Regions from separate parts of the Homo sapiens genome. Here all the other regions are linked to region 1. The links are contacts of gene promoters, found by promoter capture Hi-C in blood cells and fetal thymus (Javierre and others, 2016). All regions are on one chromosome and are shown on one strand. The core of a region is centred on a gene start or on the middle of the fragment in contact, and the rest is flanking DNA. Distances in the headings are between cores, read along the strand shown. Region 1 holds the start of GABARAPL2 (GABA type A receptor associated protein like 2). Region 2 overlaps ZNRF1 (zinc and ring finger 1). Region 3 overlaps MLKL (mixed lineage kinase domain like pseudokinase). Region 4 overlaps RFWD3 (ring finger and WD repeat domain 3). Region 5 overlaps GLG1 (golgi glycoprotein 1). Region 6 overlaps RFWD3 (ring finger and WD repeat domain 3). Region 7 overlaps ZNRF1 (zinc and ring finger 1).

Region 1 (3,985 bases), core at 278-2,777:
TTTGGCTTAATAAACCACACGCTCTGGAGGTTAAGAATTGATATAAATGTGTTACAGGGAAACAGTAAGTGCTTTTCTGTGGTCAATTATGTAAGAGAAATGCAGCCCTTACCACTAAGCTTTTCCACATTTTATCTGGGCAGACCTAAGAATATCTGGGGAGGGTTTCATCCATGGCCCGTTACTCCAGGACCCCAGAATGGATCCACCTTCACACTACAGGAAACACTACTGTGTTCCCAAGGAACACAGGAGACAAGAATGGATGGACTAATTGGAATGCCTGGAATTTTAGCCAGCCAAGAACCAAGTTCTTCATTTGGCCTGTTGCTCCTCTCTGAACAAGTTTCAAATCCGTCCCTCCTACTCCTTTCCCCAGACAAATTATTCACAAGCAAAGAGCTACAATAACAGGCCTTAATGTCCATTAAAAATTAATAACGATTACAAAACTATCTCCCCAACCATGGAAGAAATATAACATTATATTTATTATTGACTAAGAAGAAAATATGGCAGAAGGGGTTTTCAGCGGCTTTTCACATTATTTTGGTCAGGCAAGGATGACAGGGTCAAGGTGAGATAACGGAGCTAGAAGTTAGGTAAAGATGGAGACAAAGTAAAAGATGAACGTCCTGAGACTCAAGTACCACTTCCAAGACCAAAATGACAGTCTCCCTCCACCACCATTCCCAAAAGTGGCAGTGACCTGTTGCCCTGTCCTAGAACATCGTTCCTTACATAATTGGCCAGGGAGCCCCGAGGCTGCAGACGGCTCGCTGGCCTAGATCGGGAGATTCAGCACTGAGGCACCCTGAACAGCACCAGCCCGAGCCCCTCACGCCCCGGCCCTGGGCGGCCTCATCCCGGTCTGGCCCGTCAGCTACTGTAACTGGGACTGGAACCTCAACTTGTCAACTGTTGAATGGCCTGGGGCCTATCACGGGTCCCAGACGACAGAGGTGACAGCGAGGTGAGGGGGCGGAGAGTCCACTCACCGGAACCCTGTCGGGATATTTCGCTCGAATCTTCGCGGACTCCACGCATCTGTGTTCTGTGGGAGAAACAAACGGGGCTGACGGCCGCGCCTGCCCACCGGTCGGTTCCCGGCCCCCGGCCCTCCTCCTCCTGCGCCCTGCGTACAACCCAGGCCCTGGTTCCGGCGTCCCCGGGGCCGCGGTCCTGTCCCCTACTAGCTCCCAGCAAGGCCCGCGGAGGGTGACATGGGGTCAGGGGGCCGCTGCCCGAGGCACCAGGGCATGGGCGACTCCAGCCCGCAGCAGGGCATCCGCCCCGCTCCACTCGGCCCAGGGCCGCCCGAGTGGGGGAGGGGGCCCACCCGCCGCCCCAGCCCCCAGCAGCCGGGCCGACGACCAAGTGCTTACCCAGCGAGTGGTCCTCCTTGAACATCCACTTCATGGCGGCGGCGGGAAGGGGACGGAACCGGCTCGCGGAGCCGCGGAGCTCAGCGCACCGAGCACAACAACAACGACGGCGGCAGCGGCAGCGGCAGCGACGGCGGCGACTACACGGCAGGCGGGACTTCCGGCTGTCGGAGCCTAGCAACCGGCCGGGGGCGGGGCTTCCGGCGCCATTTGTCAGGGCGCCACGCCAAGGGGCGGGGCCGCACGTAAAGGGGCGGGGCCGCGGAGGACCCCTTTGGGGGCTCCTGGGCTGCGGTGGCGAAGAAGTTGGTTATGGGGACGTCTGTGAGCAGTATCTGCGACATTGCTCGCAGGAATGTTCGGGGAACTGGTGACAGGAGTGGGGTCTCGGGAGCGTTGGTGGCGGAAAACGTCTGGCTGATAGTGTAGGGCTCTTACTGAGGGCTGTTTGGGGGTGTGGCTGATAGCTGAGGGCTCTTAGAGCGGTTCATAGGGGAAGTCTGGGGAATTGGTGACAAGAACGGTCTTTAGGGGTAAGAATGACATAAGGAGGGCTTTCTAGAGCTTGGCGATAACAAGGGAGCTGTTTAGGGCGTTGACAGTTTGGGGAGTATTGCTCGGAGTGGTGACAGGTTGGGGGCTCATTATGGGAGGGGAGGGTGTTTGAGGACACTGTTGGAAGCGGCACTGAGGACAACCCGGAGGTCCGTATTAGGGACAGCCGTAGTAGGTTGTCTTGGACCTAGAAATTGAATTTAAACAAATCCCGTTTTCTTCCTTTATTCGTGAATAAATATTTGAATAAACATTTACGAAAAGGTATCACAAATGCACATTTGAGGCGGGGTACGGTGGCTCACGCCTGTAATCCCAACACTTTGGGAGGCCGACGCGGGTGGATCACCTGAGGTCAGGAGTTGAAGACCAGCCTGGCCAACATGGTGAAACCCCGTCTCTACTAAAAATACAAAAATTAGCCAGGCATGGTAGTGGGCGCCTGTAGTCCCAGCTCCTCGGGAGGCTGAGGCAGGAGAATCGTTTGAACCAGGGAGGTGGAGGTGGCAGTGAGCCGAGATCACACCACTGCACTCCAGCCTGGGCAACAGAGCAAGACTCCGCCTCAAAAAAAAATGCACATTTGAGGAGTGTAACATCACTGATCACAGACCCCTTAATTTTAACTGGCAGAGGAGTTAGAGGTGACTGTCAGACTCGGAGAATTCCCCTGAGAGCTGGTCATGAGATGGGTTTCCTTATTTGGCTGTGGGAGTGGTTTAGCAATCACAGCCTGAGCTGTGTGTGTGTCACCTGCCCGGACATATGCTTTGAGGTTCTCCAATCAGTGATGTAATGCCTTTTTTCCAAGCAGACTCATCAAGGCAGTCTGGTCTGGGTCACCATCTGTTTATAAGCTGCTGAACATGTAGCAGGAATATTCACTTAATTGGGCACATGAACCCTGCCACGTGCTTGTGATTCTGATGCACCTGTAAAGCCTGTATGTTTGAATGTGGTAGTTCATCATTTCCTACACTGGAAATTCCTGATCGATGCTGTGGAATCTAGCTTCATTCTATAAGTATTTTTGTTATTTTAAGACTGTGTGTCTGAGTAACTAGAATAGGTTTTTTTGTTTCTTTGTTTTTGTTTTTGTTTTTTGGAGACAGGGTCTTTCTCTGTCACCCAGGCTGGAGTTCAGTGGCACAATCTTGGCTTACTGCAGTCTGCCTCCTGGGTTCAAGCGATTCTGCTGCCTCAGCCTCCTGAGTAGCTGGGACTACAGGGACACACCACCACACCCAGCTAATTTTTGTATTTTTGGTAGAGATGGGGTTTTGTCATGTTCGCCAGGCTGGTCTTGAACTTCTCACCTCAAGTAAGTGATTTGCCCGCCTCGGCCTCCCAAAGTGCTAGGATTACAGGTGTGAGCCACTGCATCTGTTTGTTTGTTTTTAATGAAGTGGAAAAAATCCTTTGAATTTCCTACTTAGAAATTATTGTTACATACAAGAGCTCTGTGCTAGGTGCTGGGGAAAAACAGTGAAGAAGACAGATGACATCCCTATTCTCATGGGTGGCAGCATGAGATATTCTTGTCCCCCTGACATATTCTAGTGGGATAAGACAAAAAATAAGTATGTTAGGTAATGATAGGTGCTATTTCGAAAAATAAAGCACAGTAGGTGACTAGAGAGTGTGGTGGGATGGAATGCTAATTAGATAAAGTGCCTGGCATATTCTAGGGAACCCCTGTGGCTGGAGCTGAATAAATGAGAGAGGAGAGTGTGTTATGAGACAAATTCAAAGATATCTAGAACAAAACTGTGTTGAGCTTTGAATTCCATGCAAAGAGCTTTGGATTTTATTTAGAATGAGATGAGAAGTCAGTGTAGGGGTTTAAGCAGAGACGTAACACAATCTGCCTTTCCTTTTCAAAAGGCTAGCTTAGTAGACTGTAGGCGCTGAGGGTGGAAGCAGGGAAATAGTTGAGACACTATTGTGATAATCCTGGTGAAAGATGATGTTGGCTTTGGCCAAGGTGGGGTCTACAGAGGTGATGGGAAGCAGTTGTATTCTGGATATATTTCGAAGGTAAAACT
Region 2 (3,429 bases), core at 741-3,240, 530 kb after region 1:
CAAAACTTATCATAAAGTTACAAGTAACCACAATAGCAACAGACACATAAATCAATGGAACAGAATTGAAAGCCGAGAAATAAACCACTACATTTATGACCAGTTGATTCTGCCAAGGGAATTCAGGAAGAAAGGATGGTCTTTTCAACAAATGATGTTGCTACAACTAGAAATATGTGTGTTTACAAAAAAAAAAAAAAAAAAAGAAAGAAACAGACACTCCCTCCCTCATACCATATCCAAAAATTAACTCAAAATGGAACACAGACATATGTAAGAGCTAAAACTATAAAACTTCTAGATGAAAATAGGAGAAATTTTTGTAACCTTGGTCTAGACACTTTTTTTTACATATACCAAAAGCATCATTCATAAAAGCAAAAAATTGATAAATTAGACAACCAAAATTAAAAATGTTTGCTCTTCCAAAGATACCATATAAGCAAATAAAAGCACAGGCCACACATTGGGAGAAAATAGTTGCAAATCATATCTGACAAAAGACATATTCATAATACATAAACTCTTACAACTCACTGACAAACAACTCAATTTTTAAAAATGAGGATATACAGAAAATCATTGGACCTTCCTCTTAATTTTGCTGTGAACCTAAAACTGCTCTATTAAAATAATTAAGTCTTTGTTTTTTGAGACGGAGTTTTGCTCTTGTTGCCCAGGCTGGACTGCAGTGGCATGATCTCAGCTCACTGCGACCTCCGTCTCCCAGGTTCAAGTGATTCTCCTGCCTCAGGCTCCCGAGTAGCTGGGATTATAGGCGTCTGCCACCATGCCCAGCTAATTTTATATATATATATTTTTTTTTTTAGTAGAGATGGGGTTTCACCATGTTGGCCAGGCTGGTCTCGAACTCCTGAGAGAATTAAGTCTTAAAAACAGAAAACAACAAGCAAGCAAAGATTTGAATTGACATTTCACCAAAAAAGATAAGTGAATTGTTAAACACATGAAAAGGGATCATCACTAGCTAACGAAATACAAATTAAAATCACAGTGAGGACTGGGCACGGTGGCTCACGCCTGTAATCCCAGACCTTTGAGAGGCTGAGGCGGGCGTATCACTTGGGTCAAGAGTTGGAGACCAGCCTGGCCAACATGGTGAAACCCCATCTGTAACAAAAAATACAAAAATTAGCCGGATATGGCGGCATGCACACGTAGTCCCAGCTACTCTGGAGGCTGAAGTGGGAGAATCACTTGAACCCAGGAGGCAGAGGCTGCAGTGAGCTGAGATCATGCCGTTGCACTCTAGCCTGGGCGACAGGGTGAGACCCTGTCTCAAAAATAAATAAATAAATAAAATAAATTAAAATCACAATGTGGTACCACTACATACCTACTAGAATGACTATAATCCGTAAGTCAACAATACACGGTGTTGGCAAGGATGTGGCAAAACTGGAACTCTCAACCATTGCCCATGAAAATGTAAAATGTACAGCCACTTTGGAAAAGGCTGCCAGTTTCTCAAACGTTTAAACACAAACTTCTCATATGGAATCTTATGTCCACATAAAATCACGAACATGAATGTTCACAGCAGCATCATTCATAATTGTCTTAAGCTAGAAACAATCCAAAAGTCTATCAGCTGGTGAATGGATAGACTGACTGTGGTAAATTCATATAATGGAATACTATTTAGCAATAAAAACTACCGATGTCAGCACAAACTACTGATACATACTCAACACATATGAACTTAAAAACATGGTAAGTGGGCTGGGCATGGTGGCTTATGCCTGTAATCCCTGCACTTTGGAAGGCCAAGGTGGGTGGATCACCTGAGGTCAGGAGTTCGAGACCAGCCTGGCCAACGTGATGAAACCCCATCTCTACTAAAAATACAAAAAATTAGCTGGGCATGGTGGCGCGCACCCATAATCCCAGCTACTCAGGAGGCTAAGCCAGGAGAATCACTTGGACCCAGGAGGCAGAGGTTGCAGTGAGCCGAGATTGCGCCACTGCACTCCAGCCTGGGCAACAAGAGCAAAACTCTGTCTCAAAAAAAAAAAAAAAAAAAAAAAAACCCACAAAAAACAAAAACAAAAACATGGTGAGTGAAGGACACCAAACAGAAAATAATACATACTGTATGATTTCATTTATATGAAATTCCCAGAAAAGGCAAATCTAGAGAGATAGCAGTTGCCCGGTGGGGAGCAGAGATTGACTAAAAACAGGCATAGGAACTTTCTGAAGTGGCCCTTTCAGATGTGGTGGTTCACATCCGTAATCCCAGCACTTTGGGAGGACAAAGTGAGAGGATTGCTTGAGCCCAAGAGTTTGAGGCTGCAGTGAGCTACAGTCTCACTACTGTACTCCAGCCTAGGTGGCAGAGTGACGCCCTTGTTTTAAAACAATAAAAATAAAAAAAGGACTTTTTGAGAGATGGAAGTGTTATAAAATTGGATTTTAAGCCATGCGTGGTGGTGCGCGCCTGCAGTGCCAGCTACGTGGAAGGCTGAGGAAGGAGGATCCCTTGAGCCTAGAAGGTCAAGGCTGCGGTGAGCTATGACCATGCCACTGTACTGTAGCCTGAGTGACAGAGTAAGACTCAAAAAAAAAAAAAAAAAAAAAAAAAAGAAAGAAAAGAAAGAAACAAAAGATTTTAGTGATGGTTTCATAACTATATATTTACTAAATCTCATTGTACATTTATAATGTATGAATATTATGGTATGTCAACTATACCTCAGTTTCAAAACAGTAACAACCAATATCCCACAACATCTGGAGGATCCCTAACTGCAGGTTCCTATATACAGTGAAAATCTTTTGGGATACTTTCTGGTAGAACTGTAGTTTTCTGGCAAAGAACTATGAAAGGGATTTCTCTATTAACAGTGCTTCTTCAACAACAGCACACGTAAGAATCACCTGGAACACCTGTTGACAGACCAACCCCTCTCTTCCCACTGGATTCAGTAGGTCTGGGGTGGGGCCCATAAATCTGCATTCCTAAAAGCTCCAGGACCAGTCATTAAAAACAGAGATTTCAAAGTCTCACCAGAGATGTATTATATCCAAATCTCTAACAAAGGGGAACCTGGGAATCTGTACCTCTTACAAGTATCAGGGAGAATCTTATGATTGATCTCATGGTTTAGTACTCCATGAGCTACAACACTCTCGTATACCATTAACTCCAAGGATTTTTATAAGTAGTTTCAAGAGTAAAATCTGTGTGTTCCTGGGTTGAAAATGACCAAGTAAATTATCTGTATTTTAAGTGGTTCTAAAGTCTTTAGGGTTCTGCCTTTGGCCTCCCTAAATAAAGCAATTTGCAGGAAAGCAACTTATATTTATTCACAGTATTCTAAATATGCTTCCACATTAAAAAAAAAAGTTTTCCAAACAAATTAAAAATAATAAATAAAACAGAAAGTTTTTGCCATTAAAAACATT
Region 3 (3,654 bases), core at 727-3,226, 880 kb after region 1:
GTGCCTGGCTCAGTCACATGTCAGTTTTGCAGCTCAGGCCCATGAATGGGGAAGTCGACTTCTTGTCTGAGTCCTCACCCGCCCCTGCCATGTGTGCCCTACTCATTCCTCCCACACAGATGTACGAAGCTTCTTGTGAGCACCCATGTGAACAAGACAGACACATTTCCTGCCTTCTTGGGAATCCAGTTGAGTGAGGAAGACATTCGCCAAATAACTGCTCAAGAAAATTTTGAATTATACCAAGAAAGGGAGATAGAAGTTAAAAAAGAAAAAGAAAAAGAATTTTTTTTTTTTTTTTTTGAGACAGAGTCTCATTCTGTCACTCAGGCTGGAGTGCGGTGGTACAATATGCTTACTGCAGCTTCCACCTCCGAGGTTCAAGCAATTCTCCTGCCTCAGCCTCCCTAATAGCTGGGACTACAGGCATGTCCCACCACACCTGGCTAATTTTTGCATTTTTCATAGAGACGAGGTTTCATCATGTTGGCCAGGCTGGTCTCGAACTCCTGGCCTCAAGTGATCCACCAGCCTCAGCCTCCCAAAGAGCCAGGATTACAGGCGTGAGTCACCACACCTGGCAGAACATTTTTTTTTTTTTTTTGAGATGTAGTGTCACTCTGTTGCCCAGGCTGGAGTGCAGTGGTGCAATCTCTGCCACGCAGCTTCAAGTGATTCTCCTGCCTCAGCCTCCCAAGTAGATGGGATTACACGCACCTGCCACCACACCCAGCTAATTTTTGTATTTTTAGTAGAGACATGGTTTCACCACGTAGGCCAGGCTGATCTCAAACTCCTGACCTTGTGTTCCACCCACATTGGTCTCCCAAAGTGCTGGGATTACAGGCATGAGCCAACGCACCCAGCCAATTTTTTTTTTAAGGTAGAATTACGACAAGCCAAGTATTATGGAGAAGAGGATGGGAATTCTGGGCATATTTGGTCCATTCAAGGAGGCCGGGGACCAAAACTGTGGGCTGAGGATTGGGGGAGAAATGGGACTCAGCAGAGCCAAGTCTGTATCTGTACCGAGGCTGGGAGAGGTGGGCTGCAGACATGGGAAGCTTCAAGTAGGGCGGGTCCTCATAGTGTCTGGCTCCTTTCCACCAGTGACTCCGCCTCAATTCTCCATTGTCATGGAGTACTGTGAACTCGGGACCCTGAGGGAGCTGTTGGATAGGGAAAAAGACCTCACACTTGGCAAGCGCATGGTCCTAGTCCTGGGGGCAGCCCGAGGCCTATACCGGTAAGACGGGGTGAAAAGGCGCCACTAAGGGTTGGATGGGTCTGTCCACACTCCTGATACTCCCAGAGATGGTGAGAGAACAGGCCAGACGCCCCAGACAGTCTCCCTCCCATACACTGTTTTACTATTTACTCTGATTACAGATAGGAGGGAGGAAAGAGGCTTAACCCAGGGAACACCAGCTCCCAGAACTGACGGTTGAAATTGATGTCCACACTGCACTTATAGAGTTGGATGAGCCCTAATTTTGGAGTGGACAGATTTAGCATAAAAATGAACATATCCAGTTAAATTTGAACGTTAGGAAAGTAATGAATCATTTTTTAGTATAAGTGCATCCTAAACATTGCATGGTATATACTTATACTAAATATCAAAAATATCAAATTTTATTTTATGTTTTGAGACAGAGTCTCACTCTCTTGCCCAGACTGGAGTGCACTGATATGATCACAGATCACTTAACCTCCCGAGCTGAAGGGATTCTCCTACCTTAGCCTCCTGAGAAGCTGGGACTACAGGCGCACACCACTACACTCAGCCAGTTTTTTTTTTATATATATTTTTTGTAGAGATAAGGTTTTGCCATGCTGCCTAGGCTGGTCTCGAACTACTGGGCTCAAGCAATCCTCCTGCCTCAGCTTTCCAAAGTGCTGGGATTACAGGCATGAGTCACTGCACCCAGTCTCAAATTTTGGATAAACATTTATTTTTAGTACAACTATGTCCTATACAATTTGTGGGCATGCTTGTACATATATATATGCGTGTACGTGAATCTATATATTCATTGCTTATCAGAAACTCAAATTTAATGGAGTGTCTTGTGTTTTTTTCTTTTCTTTTTTTTTCTTCTTGAGATGGAGTCTCCCTCTGTTGCCCAGGCTGGAGTGCAGTGGCACGATCTCGGCTCACTGCAACCTCTGCCTCCCAGGTTCATGCCATTCTCCTGCCTTAGCCTCCCGAGTAGCTGGGACTACAGGTGCCTGCCACTACGCCTGGCTAATTTTTTTGTATTTTTATTAGAGACGGGGTTTCACCATGTTAGCCAGGATGGTATCGATCTCCTGACCTCATGATCCACCTGTCTCGGCCTCCCAAAGTGCTGGGATTACAAGTGTGAGCCACCGCGCCCGGCCGTGTCTTGTGTTTTATTTGGCAACTCTACCTATTCTCACCTGCAGAATCTATGGATTCTTAGTCCCAAGGGTCCCCAAAGGTTAGTCACTCACAAACCATCTGCAGGGTTTTAACTATACTACTACCAGTGTTATTTACTTAACATTTTTCATTACATTGACTCACTTTTTAAAAATCGGAATAAAGGCCTGGCCCAGTGGCTCACGCCCATAATCCCAGCACTTTGAGAGGCCAAGGCAGGTGGATCACTTGAGGTCAGGAGTTGGAGACTAGCCTGGCCAACGTGGCGAAACCCTGTTTTTACTAAAAATACAGAAATTAGCCCAGCATGGTGCCACAGGCCTGTAATCTCAGCTACTCAGGAGGCTTGAGGGACAAGAATCACTTGAACCCAGGAGGCGGAGGTTTCAATGAACTGATATCGTACCACTGCACTCCAGGCTGGGCGACAAAGCAAGACTCCATCTCAAAAAATAATAATAATAATTGAAATAAAGCTTTTAAAAAGGACACTTTCTCTTACTACCATAAATTGAAAACCAGTGTCACTTGCCAAAAATAGGTAACCACAAATGAAACCAAAACAATGTAATTAAATTCTGGCTGGATGAGGCTGCCTGCCAGAAGCTCTGTGATCCAACCCACATTCTCTTTGTACAATGGAGATATTGGAGATATTGGCAGAGTTAAGGATACCCAACACCAAGGCTGGGCGCAGTAGCTCACGTCTATAATCCCAGCACTTTGGGAGGCTGAGGCGGACAGATCACAAGGTAAAGAGATCAAGAGCATCCTGCCCAACACGGTGAAACCTCGTCTCTCCTAAAAATACAAAAATTAGCTGGGCGTGATGGCACGCACCTATAGTCCCAGCTACTCGTAAGGCTGAGGCAGGAGAATCGCTTGAACCTGGGAGGCAGAGGTTGCAGTGAGCTGAGATTGTGCCACTGCACTCCAGCCTGGGCGACAGAGCGAGACTCCGTCTCATAAAAAAACAAAAAACAAAAAACAAAAACAAAAAAACAAAAAAAAAATACCAAACGCAGACTTTCTTCTTGATGTAATCAGAAAGACTGGAGCAAACTGAAAGGAGAGTAATTTTCCCTTTATATAATCTTGCATACCACCTTATCCCACACTTTTGGAAACACTGTCTTAGCTATTAATTTGAAATTAAGTTTGTTTCTTCTCAACTCCCTAAACTAGTGAGTTTAAGGAGAAGTATTTTTGGATGTTGTAGGGGACACTGTTAATATCCCCTCCAAATG
Region 4 (3,767 bases), core at 195-2,694, 910 kb after region 1:
TGTACTTTAAAAACTAGGTGGTAGGGAGGCACAGTGGCTCAGTCCTGTTGTCCTGATGCATGAGGAGGTAAGGCCAGGCATTCAAGACCAGTTTGGGCAACATAGGAAGCCTTCATCTATATAACAAAAAAAAATTTTTTTTTTTAGTTTAAAAACTAGGTGGTAGTTTTCAAACTGATACAATGGAATTAAAGATAGGAAACATGAAAAGAACATAGGTGCTTAATAAATATTTGTTGAATACGCTAACATGATGGAATTAGAGATGGAAAACAAAAATAATGAAAGGGATAGGATAAAGTTTGCTCAGCCTTTTTGGAAACATTAGGTAAGTTTCCATTTTGAGTTAGTAACAGTTAATTTTGCAAGTGTAAAAAATGTCCTTTCTCTATTTATCCCTTGTAACTGTTGATGCTGTGAAAGATTAATATTGCCTGCTAAAATTAGATACTGCATTATATGCATTTGATTTTGGTGAATGTCCATATTCAGCTTGAGAGAACTGCAAAGTGTCTGAGAGATTACTTTTAGACCCAGTAGTTTAATCTCCTTGGTTTATAGATCTTTCTATTTTGGAAGATACTACTATGATCACAGGACTTCATGTTTTCTAAGGGCAAACCGGAAAACTGGTTATAAATGCTTGTTATAGAGAGGAAAGTCCATTACCAAACACTTCTGACTTAAGTAGTTAAAATCTTCTCTTGAAGCTTCTCAGTCTTGCTAAGAATGATATTAAACATAAAATCAGAAAGATTAAATATGATTCTGTCACCTACATAGCATGTTTTATCTATTTTATTAATACTTTTTACAAATACTGTTTCTCTAGTGATGGCTCATGAAGCAATGGAATATGATGTTCAGGTGCAGTTAAATCATGCCGAACAACAGCCAGCTCCTGCTGGCATGGCCAGCAGCCAAGGGGGACCAGCCCTCCTCCAGCCTGTTCCTGCTGATGTGGTCAGCAGCCAGGGGGTACCATCCATCCTCCAGCCAGCTCCTGCTGAGGTGATCAGCAGCCAAGCGACACCACCCCTGCTCCAGCCTGCTCCGCAACTGTCTGTTGACCTGACAGAAGTGGAGGTCTTGGGAGAAGACACTGTGGAGAACATCAATCCAAGAACTTCAGAACAACATAGGCAGGGATCTGATGGTAATCACACCATCCCAGCATCTTCGTTGCATTCAATGACCAACTTCATCAGCGGACTGCAGAGACTTCATGGCATGCTGGAATTCCTGAGACCTTCATCTTCAAACCACAGTGTAGGGCCAATGAGAACAAGAAGGAGGGTATCTGCTTCACGGAGGGCAAGAGCCGGAGGGTCTCAGAGGACAGACAGTGCCAGGTAAATAAATATATGGATAAGTCTGTGATCATTGCTGTACTAGAAATTATGAAACTGAGGCTCTGCCATTCAAGGACTGACAGTGTGACTTTTGGCAAGTCAGGTAACTTCTGACCCCCAGTTCCTCATAGGTGGAAATAAAAGTGCTTGCCTTACTTCACAAAGTAATGAAGGGATAAGTTAAACTGTTGTGCCTTGAAAACTAGGTGGTAGTTTGTTGGCAATCTCTGTAGAGATTGGCTGTTGTTCAGATTGTGTCTTGTACACCAAAAATTCTTTCTTCACTTGCAAGTCTCTACTCACCCAAATTCATTATTCACTGGCATTCCACCTGGGGGCACAATTAATTAATTTTCTTTCATAGTCTTGGTTTGAACTTGCCTCTTGAAGGGCTTAGCTGTCAAGTCTTGACAGGGTTATTATGAAGAATAACAATTGCCTATACCCTGTCCGTTTTTTGGTTTTTTGTTTTTGTTTTTGAGACAGCGTCTCACTCTGTCGTCCAGGCTGGATTCCCGTGGCACAATCTTTGCTCACTGCAACCTCCATCTCCCAGATTCAAGCGATTCTCCTGCCTCAGCTTCCCCAGTACCTGGCATTACAGGCGCGTGCCACCACACCTAACTAATTAAACCTGTCTGTTTTTGGTTTTGTTTTGTTTTGAGATGGAGTCTCACTCTGTCGCCCAGGCTGGAGCGCAGTGGTGCGATCTCCGCTCAGAGAGGGCTTTGTTCAGGGTCTCATAACTATAGAATAGAGGAGTTAGCACTGATATTGGAGCCTGGATCTGCCCTGTTTTCTACATAGGCAGATGGAGGAAGCTTCGACGAAATCCCTTTGTTTTCTCTTTCTTCTTGTTTTTATTATTGTTATTTTTGAGACAGGGTCTCACTGTGCTCCCCAGGCTGGAGTGCAGTGGTGCAATCACAGCTCACTGCAGCCTCGACCTCCCCAGGCTTAGGCGATCTTCCTACCTCAGCCTCTTGATGATTAACTGGGACTACAGGCATACGCAACCATGCCGATGTTTTCTAACACTGTGAAAATATTGAGATGATACTAAAAAGTGGTAGCTAGGTCATCTATTACCCATGTTTTACAAATGAGGAAGCTGATGGGATAATTTGTGATTTGGTTGTGATAAGGCTGGAATTGGAATTGTGCCTTCTGTATCTGGATTCAGCATTCTTTTTCATGGATCCTGCTGATTTTAATGTTGGGGCTTGCCATGACTGTGGCTCCAGTGTCTGTAGTGCCCATCAAGGATGACAGATGCCTAGTTCTGTGTTGACAAGAGTTGCAAATGCATATTACTCTGGGTTTTTTTTTTGTTTTTAAGACAAGAGTCTTGCTCTGTCACTCAGGCTGGAGTGCAGTGGCGCAGTATCAGCTCACCAGGACCTCTGGCTCCCGGGTTCAAGCGATTCTTGTGCCTCAGCCTCCTAAGTAGCTGGGATTGCAGGCGTGCACCAGCAGGCTTGGCTATAGTCTGTTGTTTTAAGATGTCATTACTCACGTTATAAAGGCAGGGTAAGATTTCATACATTTGTGTTATAGGTGAAGGCACCTTATGGTGTAATTTGGGGACCCTCCCAAAGTAAATGGGCTAACTTTCCATGGTTGAGAGTTGTGAGTGGTGTTTCCAGGAGCTGGCTGACTGTCAGGAGGCCTCTTGCAAGTCCTCAGTCTTGCTTATCCATGCACTCATTCTTGTTGGGGGACGCAGAGTGGATTCCTCTTGGTCAAGCACAGTGACTTGTATTAACCAACTTAAGGGTGACACTTATAAACCAGATGCCAACTTACAAAGAAAAACAGAACCACTAGAGAGCCAAACAGAAGCCAAACTCTAGTGAGAAAATTGCTTGATGTGGCTGGGCATAGTGGCTCACGCCTGTAATCTCAGAACTTTGAGCGGCCAAGGCAGGCGGATCCCTTTAGGCCAGGAGTTCGAGGCCAACATGGTGAAACCCCATCTCTACTAAAAATACAAAAAATTAGCCGGGCGTGGTGGCACACACCTGTGGTCCCAGCTACTTGGGAGGTTAAGGCATGAGAATTCCTTGAACCTAGGAGGCGGAGCTTGCAGTGAGCCAAGATCTTGTCACTGTAATCCAGCCTGGGTGACAAGAGTGACTCTCTGTCTCAAAAAAAAAAAAAAAAAATTATAGAATCTGCTCAGGGAATGAGTTATACAGAATTTAAATGTTGAAAGATGTCAGTCAAGCTATTTGGCAGCCATAATCTGTCTCCACAAAGGGAATAACCTAAACGGTCAGGAAGTGTGCAGTTCAGTGGAAATTACATCAGTTCTGGAGCCAGGTAAATGTGATTAAAACTTTTTTCCCTGAAGTATGACCTTTCCCAGGACTAATCGCTTATAACTTCTGAATTTCTTGAGATGAATTTCTCAGT
Region 5 (3,459 bases), core at 926-3,425, 960 kb after region 1:
AAGATCAGTTTAGGATTTTGCCATCAGTTTCGACTAGGACAATTTGTGGCAAGCCATTTAAACATAAAAAAATGCCTGGCGTACTTAGGCTGTAAAGAATGATCTGTTTATTAGCAGTAGATGTAATTCGCAAATCCATATTTTTGGTGCTGAAATTAATGTATGCTTTGTTTTCTTCACTTCCTTTGGTCAGTTGTATTGAACCCCATGTTTAAGCTGTTAACTCCCAGTGACTTGGCGCCCCAAAGCTTGAAAAGTTGGGGAAGCGTTTGAAGCTGTGTTTGTGACTGGGTTATGGGATCTTGCCTTTCTGAGGTCTGAATGTGATTTTAACAGTATCTCTTAATGAAATCTACATTTGTCGTTGCTTGGTGTGATTCAGTTGAGTGACATTGATAATTTATAATCAAGTGACATTGATAATTTATAATCTAGGTTTAATGCTGCAGACCATAATGACAATTCTCAAAGTTTGGGAGCAAATCTGACAGTAGTAACTTTTTCCAGAGGTGTAGGTATATAAAATTAGCCCTAAAGGTGGACAAATAGAATGAAGCTACCACTTGATACTGTTTTTGGTTTTTTTTTTAAATATCAGATTTGTTTAAGGCGTTCAAGCTATAGCAAGACCACTTGCTTGTAGAAATTTGCTTCTCTTGGCATTTCCCCCCTTCATCTCGTGTTCTAGTATTCTATACAAAAGCAATTCAGATAGAGGAAAAGACATACATAAGCAGGAGACAGAAAGAAAGGAAGTTTCCAGAGCCCCTAGAAATGTGAGGCCTTACCTGACTTCTCATCTTCAGCTTAACGACTAGAGGGATAGTCCTCTGGTAGATACAGCTAATATTCCTAACTCTGTCGAACTTTTTGGAATTTTCTTTTCGCTCTTTGAGGACACATAATAGATGTCGTTTCATCAAACTAGGATCCTAATACTGGTGACCAAACAATTAGTAGTAGTTTGTGGTAGAAACAGCACATTATTAGGGAAAGTGGCAAAAAGTGGCCTATTCAAGGAGTGTATATATCCTTCATGTGTATTCCGGACATTTGGAAACCTCCACTTAAAGGAGGCAGTTTTATGCTCCAGAGGAGGAAAGGCGTCATATAAATTGGAAATGGGGGTTTTGGGGGGTTGGGGGGAGGTGGAGGGACCAAATTTCCAATTTAATGTTTTTTCCTCCAGTTTTTACATACAGAAATAATGAAGGAAGAGTACTGTGAACACCTATGTGTATTCTTCAGGAGGTGGAGTTATTTTTAAACTTCTTTTCTTTTTTTTGAGATGGAGTCTCACTCTGTCGCCAGGCTGGAGTGCAGTGGCTTGAACTTGGCTCACTGCAACCTCCACCTCCCGGCTTTAAGCAATTCTGCCTCAGCCACCTGAGTACCTGGGACTACAGGCGAGCGCCACCACGCCCAGCTAATTTTTGTATTTTTAGTAGAGACAGGGTTTCACCATGTTGGCCAGGATGGTCTCGATCTCCTGACCTTGTGATCTGCCAGCCTCGGGCTCCCAAAGTGCTGAGATTAGTGGTGTGAGCCACCACCCCCACCCTATTTTCTTTTTCTTTAAAGACAGCGAAAGGAAATTTCATTCTGCTTAGTCTGGGAGTTAATTAAATCTGATCTATGTGTTTGAAAGAGCATAACTTAAAGAAGTAAACTAGTTAGGCACATTTGAAGAAACATGTATAGAATATGTTTTGTATTTGCTGTTCAGTAAGTAGAACTATTTGATAGTGAAATAGATATATGTACTTTTCTGTCCCTTTGCATGCAAATGCAGGGAACATTTTCCTATCCGTACCCATTATTGGAATTATGAAAAGGCAGAGCATATGAGTACAGTTGTTCCTTGGTATCACTGGAGGATGGTTCCAGGCCTCCTGCAGATATTGAAATCCAAGGACGCTCAAGTACCTTATACCGTATAAAATGGTGTCGTATTTCCATATCATCTGTGCACACCCTTCCGAATTCTTGTCTTCTCTAAAATACTTGTGATACCTAGTACAGTGCCTACATATCAGTTCATTCATGTGGATTCACTGTAGTACTTGGCATATGTCAAACTTAACTTTTGCTTTTTGGAACCTTATGGAACTTTTCTTTCTGAAAAAAAATTTTTTATTATGGAGACAGGGTCTCGCTCTGTCATCCAGGCTGGAGTGCAGTGGTGCAGTCATAGCTCACTGCAGCCTCAGTCTTCTGGGTTTGAGAGTTCACTGAAGCCTCCACATTCCGGGTTCAAGTGATCTTCCCAGCTGGGCTTTCCAAAGTGCTGGGATTAGAGTTGTGAGCCACTGTGCCTGGCCTTGGGATTCTTTTTTTTTTTTTTTAACGCTCTCGGATGAGTCATGCTTTTAAAAAGGCCAAGTATATCATGGGTCCACTATGAAATAATAGATGTAATAGCCAGTAATGGTGTGTTAGTAGTCCTAGTTGTGTGTGTATAATTATTAGTAGTTCAAGTTATTTAAATAAAAACAAAAAATTAGAAAGTGTAAGGCAGAAAAGAAAAAATATTCCCTGGGCTGTTCTAGTAGGTGGAGTAATAATACCAAAGAAAGAGAAGATACTGTTGCTTAGTATGTGATAAGGAAGGCATGCTTGATGTTGTCAGTCATTTTAAAATACTTTACTTATTCTTGGTTGAAATGGCCAGTAGCACTTTTTTTTTTTCCACTAGTGTCTTGTATTTCGAAGTTTCAGATGGAGACCTTGGTTCCTTAGAAGTTTGTGGTGTTCAGCCGGGCGCAGTGGCTCACACTTGAAATCCTAGCCCTTTGGGAGGCTGAGGCAGGAGGATTGCTTGAGCTAGGAGTTCAGTACCAGCCTGGCAACATAGTGAGACACCGTCTCTAATAAAAAGTTTGTGATGTTCATAGATTAGATTTTCTTTTTTTTTTTTTTTTGAGACGGAGTCTTATTCTGTTGCCAGGCTGGAGTGCAGTGGTGTGATCTCGGCTCACTGCAACCTCTGACTCCCTGGTTCAAGCAGTTCTTCTGCCTCAGCGTCCCAAGTAGCTGGGATTACAGGCACGCACCACCTCGCCCAGCTAATTTTTGTATTTTTAGTAGAGACAGAGTTTCACCATGTTGGCCAGGATAGTCTTGATCTCCTGACCTCATGATCTGCCCACCTTGGTCTCCCAAAGTGCTGGGATTACAGTCATGAGCTATTGCGCCTGGCTGCTGCTGCTGCTGCTGCTGTTGTTGTTGTTGTTGTTGTTTGAGACGAAGTCTTGCCCTGTTGCTCAGGCTGGAGTGCAGTGGCACAATCTTGGCTCACTGCAACCTCTGCCTTCTGGGTTCAAGTGATTCTCCTGTCTCAGCCTCTTCATCACCTTGGCCAGGCTGGTCTTGAACTCCTCACCTTAGGTGATCTGCCTGCGTCGGCCTCCCAAACTGCTGGATTACAGGCATGAGCCATTGTGCGTGCCCCATAGATTT
Region 6 (3,696 bases), core at 719-3,218, 930 kb after region 1:
ATGTTTCTTTCTGCTGTCTTTAGCATAAGATTTCTGCCAACTGCAAGACCCCTTTGCTTTAGCATGGTTATATAATGTTCCTTTATCCCATCTAAGTTTTTAATAAAAAGATTTATCATCAAATAAAACCAACAAATTGGAAAAATAGCTATTTCCTAATGTTCCCCAAATTGGGAATGTGTTCTGTTCTTTTTTTCTTAACGTGTCCATTCCAGTCCGCTTGATAGTGTGCTGGTGTTGATTTGTCCTTGTTCCCCTTAATGATTAACTCGGTGTGTATTTCTGTTACCTTGTTGATTTTTTTTTTTTCTTTTGAGATGGAGTCTCACTCTTTTGCGCAGGCTGGAGTGCAGTGGCCTGATCTCAGCTCACTGCAACCTCTGCCTCCTGGATTCAAGAGATTCTCCTGCCTCAGCCTCCCAAGTAGTTGAGACTACGGGTGCATGCCACCATGCCTAGTTAATTTTTTTTTTTATTTTTTATTTTTTTTATTTTTTTGAGATGGAGTCTCGCTCTTTCGCCTAGGCCGGACTGCAGTGGCGCTGTCTCTATCTCGGCTCACTGCAAGCTCCACCTCTCGGGTTCATGCCATTCTGCCTCAGCCTCCTGAGTAGCTGGGACTACAGGCGCCCGCCACCACACCCAGCTAATTTTTTGTATTTTTAGAAGAGACGGAGTTTCACCGTGTTAGCCAGGATGGTCTCAATCTCCTGACCTCATGATCCGCCCGCCTCGGCCTCCCAAAGTGCTGGGATTACAGGCGTGAGCCACCGCGCCCGGCTATGCCTAGTTAATTTTTGTATTTGAAATGGGGTTTTAACATTTTGGTCAGGCTGGTCTCCAACTCCTGACCTCAGGTGATTCACCCATCTCAGCCTCCGAAAGTACTGGGATTACAGGCATGAGCCACCATGCCTGGCCACCTTGTTGATTTAAAGCCTATACCTGCGCCCCCCTTCCCCCCTTTTTTTTTCCTCTCTGGCTGTCTTAATTCTGCTAGAAGAAAGTACAGTAAGCCACGTGCTTGGTTCCCTGGAGAAGCTGAAGCTATCTTGAATCTAGGATTTGACGTATTTTTAAAGAATTTAACTCAAGTGGGCACAGTGGCTCATGACTGTAATCCCAGCACTTTGGGAGGCCAAGGCGGGAGGATCGTTTGGGCCCAGGAGTATGAGACCAGTCTGGGCAACATAGTGAGACTCCATCGCTATAAAAAAAATTTTTCTTAACTAGCTTGGTGTGGTGGCACACCTCTCTGGTCCCAGCTACTTGGGAGGCTGAGTTGGGAGGATCGCTTGAGCCTAGGAGATCGAGGCTATTGTGAGCCATGATGGTGCCACTGCACCTTAGCATGGGTGACAGAGTGAGGCCTTGTCTCAAAATATATATATATATATATATAAAGTACTTAGTAAAAAATAAATGTTATCATAGCCTAGTAAGAGAACAGAGTAACAAGAAGTTTTAAAAGGTTATTGGTTTTTGTTGGTTATTTTCCCCCCACTTCAGTAATGTGGGTACTTGAAATGTCATCTGTTTCATTTCATTTCAGACAGATGTGACATATCTTGACTGACAAATTATTTATTTTCATTCTCTATTGTTCACTATTCCTTCTGCATCTGGAGTGTCTGTGGTTCTGGTGAAATATTCTGTCTCTCAACAGCTTTATTGAAGTAGAATTGACAGAGAGTAAACTACATATTTAAAGTATACAATTTGATGACTTTTAACATATGTAATACACCCCTGAAACCATGACTACAATCAAGATAACTTTAATTTTTTTTTTTTTTGACAGAAGATCTAGTTCTGTCTTCCAGGCTGGATGCAGGGAGGGGTGTGATCTCCCGGGCTGGAATGCAGGGAGGGGTGTGATCTCAGCTCATTACAACCTCCGCCTCCTGGGCTCAAGTCATCCTTCCACCTCAGCCTCTTGAGTAACTGGGACTACAGGCTCGCCCCACTACGCCCAGCTAATTCTCATATTTTTTGTAGCAACAGGGTTTCACCATATTGCCCAGGCTGGTCTCGAACTCATGATCTCAAGCGAGCCACCCACCTCAGCCTCCCAAAGTGCTGGGATTACAGGCGCGAGCTACCATGCTTGGCCATGAACATATGTATTACCGCAAAAGTTTCCCTATGGCCTTTGATAATCTCACCTGCCCCTCCCTCCTCTCCCATCCCCAGCAGTCACTGCTTTTTGTCACTACAGATGAGTTTGCATTTTCTAGAATTTTACATAAATGGAATTATATAGTGTTACCATTTTTTGGTCTGACTTCTTTCTCGCTGCATAATTTTTTATTGTATATATTAGTAGTTAATTCCTTTTTAACGGGTGGTATTCCATCACATGTTTATACAGTAGGTTTGTTTATCCATTTACCTGGATGTTTGGAGTAGGTTATACTTTTTCTTTTTTTTTTTCTTCTTCTCTTCATTGTCATGAAGCAAGCATGGGTTGTACTTTTTTTTCTTTTCTTTTTTTTTTTTTTCTGAGACGGAGTTTTGCTCTGGTTGCCCACGCTGGAGTGTAGTGGTGCAATCTTGTCTCACTACAACCTCCGCCTCCTGGGTTCAAGCGATTCTCCTGCCTCAGCCTCCTGAATAGCTGGGATTACAGGAACTTGCCACCACGCCTGGCTAATTTTTTGTGTTTTAGTAGAGACAGGGTTTCACTGTGTTGGCCAGGCTTGTCTTGAACTCCTGACCTCAGGTAATCCACCTGTCTCGGCCTCCCAAAGTGCTGGGATTACAGAGGTGAGACACCATGCCTGGCCTGGGTTGTACTTTTTTAAATGAATCATAGGCCAGGTGTGGTGGCTCATGCCTGTAATCCCAGCACTTTGGGAGGCTGAGGCGAGCAGATCACCGGGAGGCAGAAGTTGTAGTGAGCTGAGGTTACGCCACTGCATTCCAGCCTGGCCAACTCTCAAAAATAAATGAATAAATTGTAACACTAGAGAATTTTTGTTTGACCAGCTGGTTCCCAAGGACTTATACGCCAAGAAAGGTGGACGAAGGAGCTACTTGAAAAACTAGTTTGAATTGCCCTAGGTTCACTTTCAGTGATCTATTTCATACTATTTTGCCTTTTTCAGGCTTTGGTGTTAAGATGTTGAGTACTGCCAACATGAAGAGCAGTCAGTACATTCCGATGCATGGCAAACAGATCCGTGGACTGGCGTTTAGCAGTTACCTCAGAGGCTTGCTACTCTCTGCTTCCCTAGACAACACTATTAAACTGACCAGGTGAGTGATTTGGGGAAGTAGGTGGAGACTGGGCTCTTTGGTGTTGAGTAGCATGGAATTCGTATCGGTGTTATGATGACCTTAGCTCTGTTTTTTGTTGTTGTTGTTGTTTTGTTTTGTTTTGTTTTTTTGAGATGGAGTCTCGCTCTGTCACCCAGGCTGGAGTGCACTGGTGGGATCTCGGCTCACTGCAAGCTCCACCTTCCGGGTTCAGGCCATTCTCCTGCCTCAGCCTCCCGAGTAGCTAGGACTACAGGCGCCTGCAACCATGCCTGGCTAATATTTTCTATTTTTGTAGTAGAGACGGGGTTTCACTGTGTTAGCCAGGATGGGCTCAATCTCCTGACCTCATGATCCGCCCGCCTCGGCCTCCTGAAGTGCTGGGATTACAGGCGTGAGCCACTGCGCCCAGCCGACCTTAGCTCTGTTTTTTTTGGT
Region 7 (3,447 bases), core at 705-3,204, 560 kb after region 1:
AAGTTTTTCTAATTTTGAAGCTGTCAAAATTGAAGCTTAGTTTTATAATTGGGTATACAGCAGTACCCCTTGTCCAAGGCTTCACTTTCCATAGTTTCAGTTACCCGTGGTCAATGGAGGTCTAAAATATTAAGATACCATGACGCACCACCCTACATGCATGGGTCAACAAGCAACTGCATACATGATGGTGGTCCCGTAAGACTATATCCTGTACCTTTTCTATGTTTAGACACACAAATACTTACAACTGTATTACAATTGCCAACAGTGTTCAATACAGTCACATGTTGCACAGGTTTGTAGCCTAGGAGCACTAGGAGCAACATATAATCTAGGTATGTAGCAGGCTATACCACCTAGGTCCGTGTATGTACACCCTATGATGTTTGCCCAGTGACAAAATCCCTTAATGACCCATTTCTCAGAAAGTATCCCTGTCATTAAGCAATGCATGACTGTACTTTCGAGACAGGGAGAGAGAGAGAGAGAACACATTCACATAACTTTTATCACAGTATATTGTTATAATTGTTCTATTATTAGTTACTGCTGTCGAGCTTTTATTGTGCCTAATTTATAAATAAAACTTTATCAAAGGTATGTATATACAGGAAAAGACATAGTAGATATAGGGTTCAGGTGAGGTACTATCCACGGTTTCAGGCATCCACTGTGGGTATTGGAACGAATCCCCTTTGGATAGGGAGTAACTACTATACTCAAATTTCTGTGCCCAATAAGCTTGGGGTGAATACCACATATGTAAAATACAAAGCATGTTCCTTTTCCCAAAAGGAACTAGAGCTTGCTTCATTTCTTTGGCTAAGAATGGCCTAAGTATTCCTTGTGACATGATATATTGAGGTGGGTCTTTGTTTAATATCAAAATGTAGTATCCCATAAAGCAAACGCTTTAAGAGCTAAGCCACTGTTTCTTACAACACCATTCAAACCTCAATAAGCAAGAGTTAACTATGACCTTCAAGAAATTATCTTTGCCTCGGGGTAACTTTTGTATTTTAAGAAAATAAGCCCTCATGGTAATAAAGAGCTAAAAATTCTGCTTTTTAATACAAGTTTTCATTAACAATAGAACTTTTGCAGGGCAGGAGACCCATCATGCTCTTTGGAGACCACAGAATGCTTTTCCTTCTCCAGAAACCATGTGAAGGCCCATTACTTCTAGCACACCTATGGCGGGACACAAAGGCTTTCTGATTCACTCCAAGGGAGCTGGCAATTCTCCCCCATTAGCTAACAATAAAAGAAAATTAAATCACTTGAGAACCCTACAGTGGCAGCAAAATAGAGCCCAAGAGATACCTCCTAGCATGTTCAAAGACTTATTAAAAGCCACGTTGGGCCAGGCGTGGTGGCTTATGCCTATAATCCCAATACCTTGGGAGGTTGAGGTGGGAGGATTGCTTAAAGCCCGGAGTTTGAGGCCAGCCTAGGCAACATAGTGAGACCTCATCTCTACAAAAGATTGTATAAAATTTAGCCAGGTGTAGTGGTGCGCACCTGAGTCCCAGCTACTCTGGAAGCTGAGATGGGAAGACGGCTTGAGCCCAAGAGTTTGAGGCTACAGTGAACCATGATTGCACCATGGCACTCCAGCCTGGGCAACAGAGCAAGACCCTGTCTCAAAAATAAATAAATAACAAAAACAAAACACAATCACCTTGTATCAGTCTCAGTTGATGGCTTGATGACAATAAAGAACAGTTTAGACTTTCTGAAAGTGCATACATATATATACACATATGACTAAGAAGGTGAAGTGAAGCCCTCAATGGCCAGCCCTTTTATAGTAGAACCTAGAAAACAGCAACTTCTTTCAACATGGTGGATGGTGCATGTTTTGTACCCCACATTTAGAAATCCATACTCTGAGACAAACAGAACTACCGAAAGAGAATGACCAGGCCTCCAGAATAGCACCGAGGCAGCCATCAGGAGTTATAGCAAAACTTTTTAACGTGGAAAGGGAGTCACTCTGCTTCTATAAAGCAGCCCTTATCAGCGGCATTATGAGTAAAAGCAGCCCACTAATGCAGGCCAGACTTTAGGACACAGAACCAGATTCCATTTGGGGGCTACAGCTAGCACAGCTGTAAACCTCTCTCCACCCATCAAATTCTGAGACCATTAGGCCTGGCACGGTGGCTCATGCCTGTGGTCCCAGCACTTTGGGAAGCCAAGCTGGGAGGATCAACTGAGCCCAGGAGTCTGAGACTGCAGTGAGCTATGATCTCGCCACTGCACTCCAGCCTGGGTGACAGAATAAGACCCTGTCTCAAAAGAAAAAAAAAAAAAATCTGAGGCGATTGAAGGCAGACAACTATAAGAGAGTGCCCCCATAGGAACTCCACCACTCTCCATTTAGAATGTCCTTTGACTTTTGTGCACATTATCTCATGAGACCCTCACTATGACTCTGAGAGGTAAGCAGGACAGGCGTCTTCTACATTTTACAGATGAATAAATTGTGACTGAGGTTAAATGACTCGCTTGCCCAAGGTCACAAATCATGCAGCTAATCAGCTGCCTAACCAGGAGATGAGCCTAGCACTCTGACTCGTAGGCCAGCGCAATCTCCAGGACACCATGCGGCTTTGTGATGTTTTCAGATAAGAGGCGGAAGAGGGTACTGGTTAAGAGCCCAGGTTCTGGCACCAGCCAACCTGCATTCCAATCCCATCTCCACCACCTACTAACCACCTGATCTTGTGTGAGTTCCTTAACCTCCCCAAACCTGTTTCCTTACCTGCACAATGGGGGTGGGAGAGAACAGTCTTACTCCATAGAGTCAGAGTGATGATTAAGTGAGATGATGAACATAAAGTACTCAAATTCATGTACTCAAAAAATGTGAGTGGCAGGCACAGTGCAGGACCCACAACAGAGATCAAGGAACACAGTCCTGCTCTCACGGAGCTTAGACTTTAGGCAAACCATACACAGAAAAAAGTAAACAGATAAAATACTTACAAAGTGTGTTAAGAATGATTAAGGTGCAGGGCGCAGTGGCTCACGCCTGTAATCCTATCACTTTGGGAGGCCGGGTCAGGCAGATCACCTGAGGTCGGGAGTTTGAGACCAGCCTGATAAACATGGAGAAATCCCGTCTCTACAAAAAACAAAATTAGCCCCAAGCTTATTGGGCATGGTGGCGCATGCCAGTAATCCCAGCTACTCGGGAGGCTGAGGCAGGAGAATTGCTTGAACCCGGGAGGCGGAGACTGCAGTGAGCAGAGGTCGCACCACTGCACTCCAGCCTGGGCAACAAGAGCGAAACTCTGTCTCAAAAAAAAGAATGATTAAGGTAACAGGTGAGTGACTGGAGAGAATAACCGGAGGGGCCAATTTTTAAGAGTGGTCTCTAAGCCCTAAGGGATCAGAAAGAGAAATTCGTGTGAAGAACGGAGAGAAAAGCACTCTAGG

What was found. Contacts are between HindIII fragments. The CHiCAGO score rates a contact against its expected background, and 5 or more counts as called.
Region 2: a contact is called between a fragment that was not itself captured here and the fragment with the promoter of GABARAPL2 in region 1, in 1 of 17 cell types (neutrophils). The highest score is 5.3, in neutrophils.
Region 3: a fragment that was not itself captured here is called in contact with the fragment with the promoter of GABARAPL2 in region 1 in 1 of 17 cell types (monocytes); the score reaches 5.3 in monocytes.
Region 4: a fragment that was not itself captured here is called in contact with the fragment with the promoter of GABARAPL2 in region 1 in 6 of 17 cell types (total CD8 T cells, naive CD4 T cells, non-activated CD4 T cells and 3 more); the score reaches 6.8 in total CD8 T cells.
Region 5: a fragment that was not itself captured here is called in contact with the fragment with the promoter of GABARAPL2 in region 1 in 2 of 17 cell types (total CD4 T cells and naive CD8 T cells); the score reaches 5.7 in total CD4 T cells.
Region 6: a contact is called between a fragment that was not itself captured here and the fragment with the promoter of GABARAPL2 in region 1, in 1 of 17 cell types (fetal thymus). The highest score is 6.0, in fetal thymus.
Region 7: a contact is called between a fragment that was not itself captured here and the fragment with the promoter of GABARAPL2 in region 1, in 1 of 17 cell types (neutrophils). The highest score is 6.2, in neutrophils.

Annotation. Positions count from the first base shown.
Region 1 is chr16:75,563,921-75,567,905 of GRCh38, reverse strand. GABARAPL2 (GABA type A receptor associated protein like 2) reads right to left here and starts at 1,527. Exons shown (of 4, transcript NM_007285.7): 1 at 1,386-1,527; 2 at 999-1,054. The coding sequence starts at 1,419. RefSeq lists an enhancer at 312-1,065 and a silencer at 1,055-1,464. The HindIII fragment of the contact is 5,212 bases long and covers 122-3,985 here.
Region 2 is chr16:75,039,220-75,042,648 of GRCh38, reverse strand. All of the region lies in intron 1 of ZNRF1 (zinc and ring finger 1), which reads right to left. Among named protein-coding and RNA genes, the nearest start is that of ZNRF1, 42 kb to the right of the region's middle. The HindIII fragment of the contact is 5,341 bases long and covers 1-3,429 here.
Region 3 is chr16:74,680,243-74,683,896 of GRCh38, reverse strand. MLKL (mixed lineage kinase domain like pseudokinase) reads left to right here. Exons shown (of 11, transcript NM_152649.4): 6 at 1,111-1,246. Among named protein-coding and RNA genes, the nearest start is that of RFWD3, 15 kb to the right of the region's middle. RefSeq lists a silencer at 1,632-1,830. The HindIII fragment of the contact is 1,819 bases long and covers 1,067-2,885 here.
Region 4 is chr16:74,658,517-74,662,283 of GRCh38, reverse strand. It overlaps RFWD3 (ring finger and WD repeat domain 3), which reads left to right. Exons shown (of 13, transcript NM_018124.4): 2 at 833-1,352. The coding sequence starts at 835. Among named protein-coding and RNA genes, the nearest start is that of RFWD3, 6.5 kb to the left of the region's middle. The HindIII fragment of the contact is 1,463 bases long and covers 713-2,175 here.
Region 5 is chr16:74,602,871-74,606,329 of GRCh38, reverse strand. All of the region lies in intron 1 of GLG1 (golgi glycoprotein 1), which reads left to right. Among named protein-coding and RNA genes, the nearest start is that of GLG1, 2.5 kb to the left of the region's middle. The HindIII fragment of the contact is 3,850 bases long and covers 251-3,459 here.
Region 6 is chr16:74,632,085-74,635,780 of GRCh38, reverse strand. It overlaps RFWD3 (ring finger and WD repeat domain 3), which reads left to right. Exons shown (of 13, transcript NM_018124.4): 9 at 3,108-3,258. Among named protein-coding and RNA genes, the nearest start is that of GLG1, 27 kb to the right of the region's middle. The HindIII fragment of the contact is 4,083 bases long and covers 1-3,696 here.
Region 7 is chr16:75,002,833-75,006,279 of GRCh38, reverse strand. The region is part of intron 1 of ZNRF1 (zinc and ring finger 1); the gene reads right to left. Among named protein-coding and RNA genes, the nearest start is that of ZNRF1, 5.5 kb to the right of the region's middle. The HindIII fragment of the contact is 2,415 bases long and covers 747-3,161 here.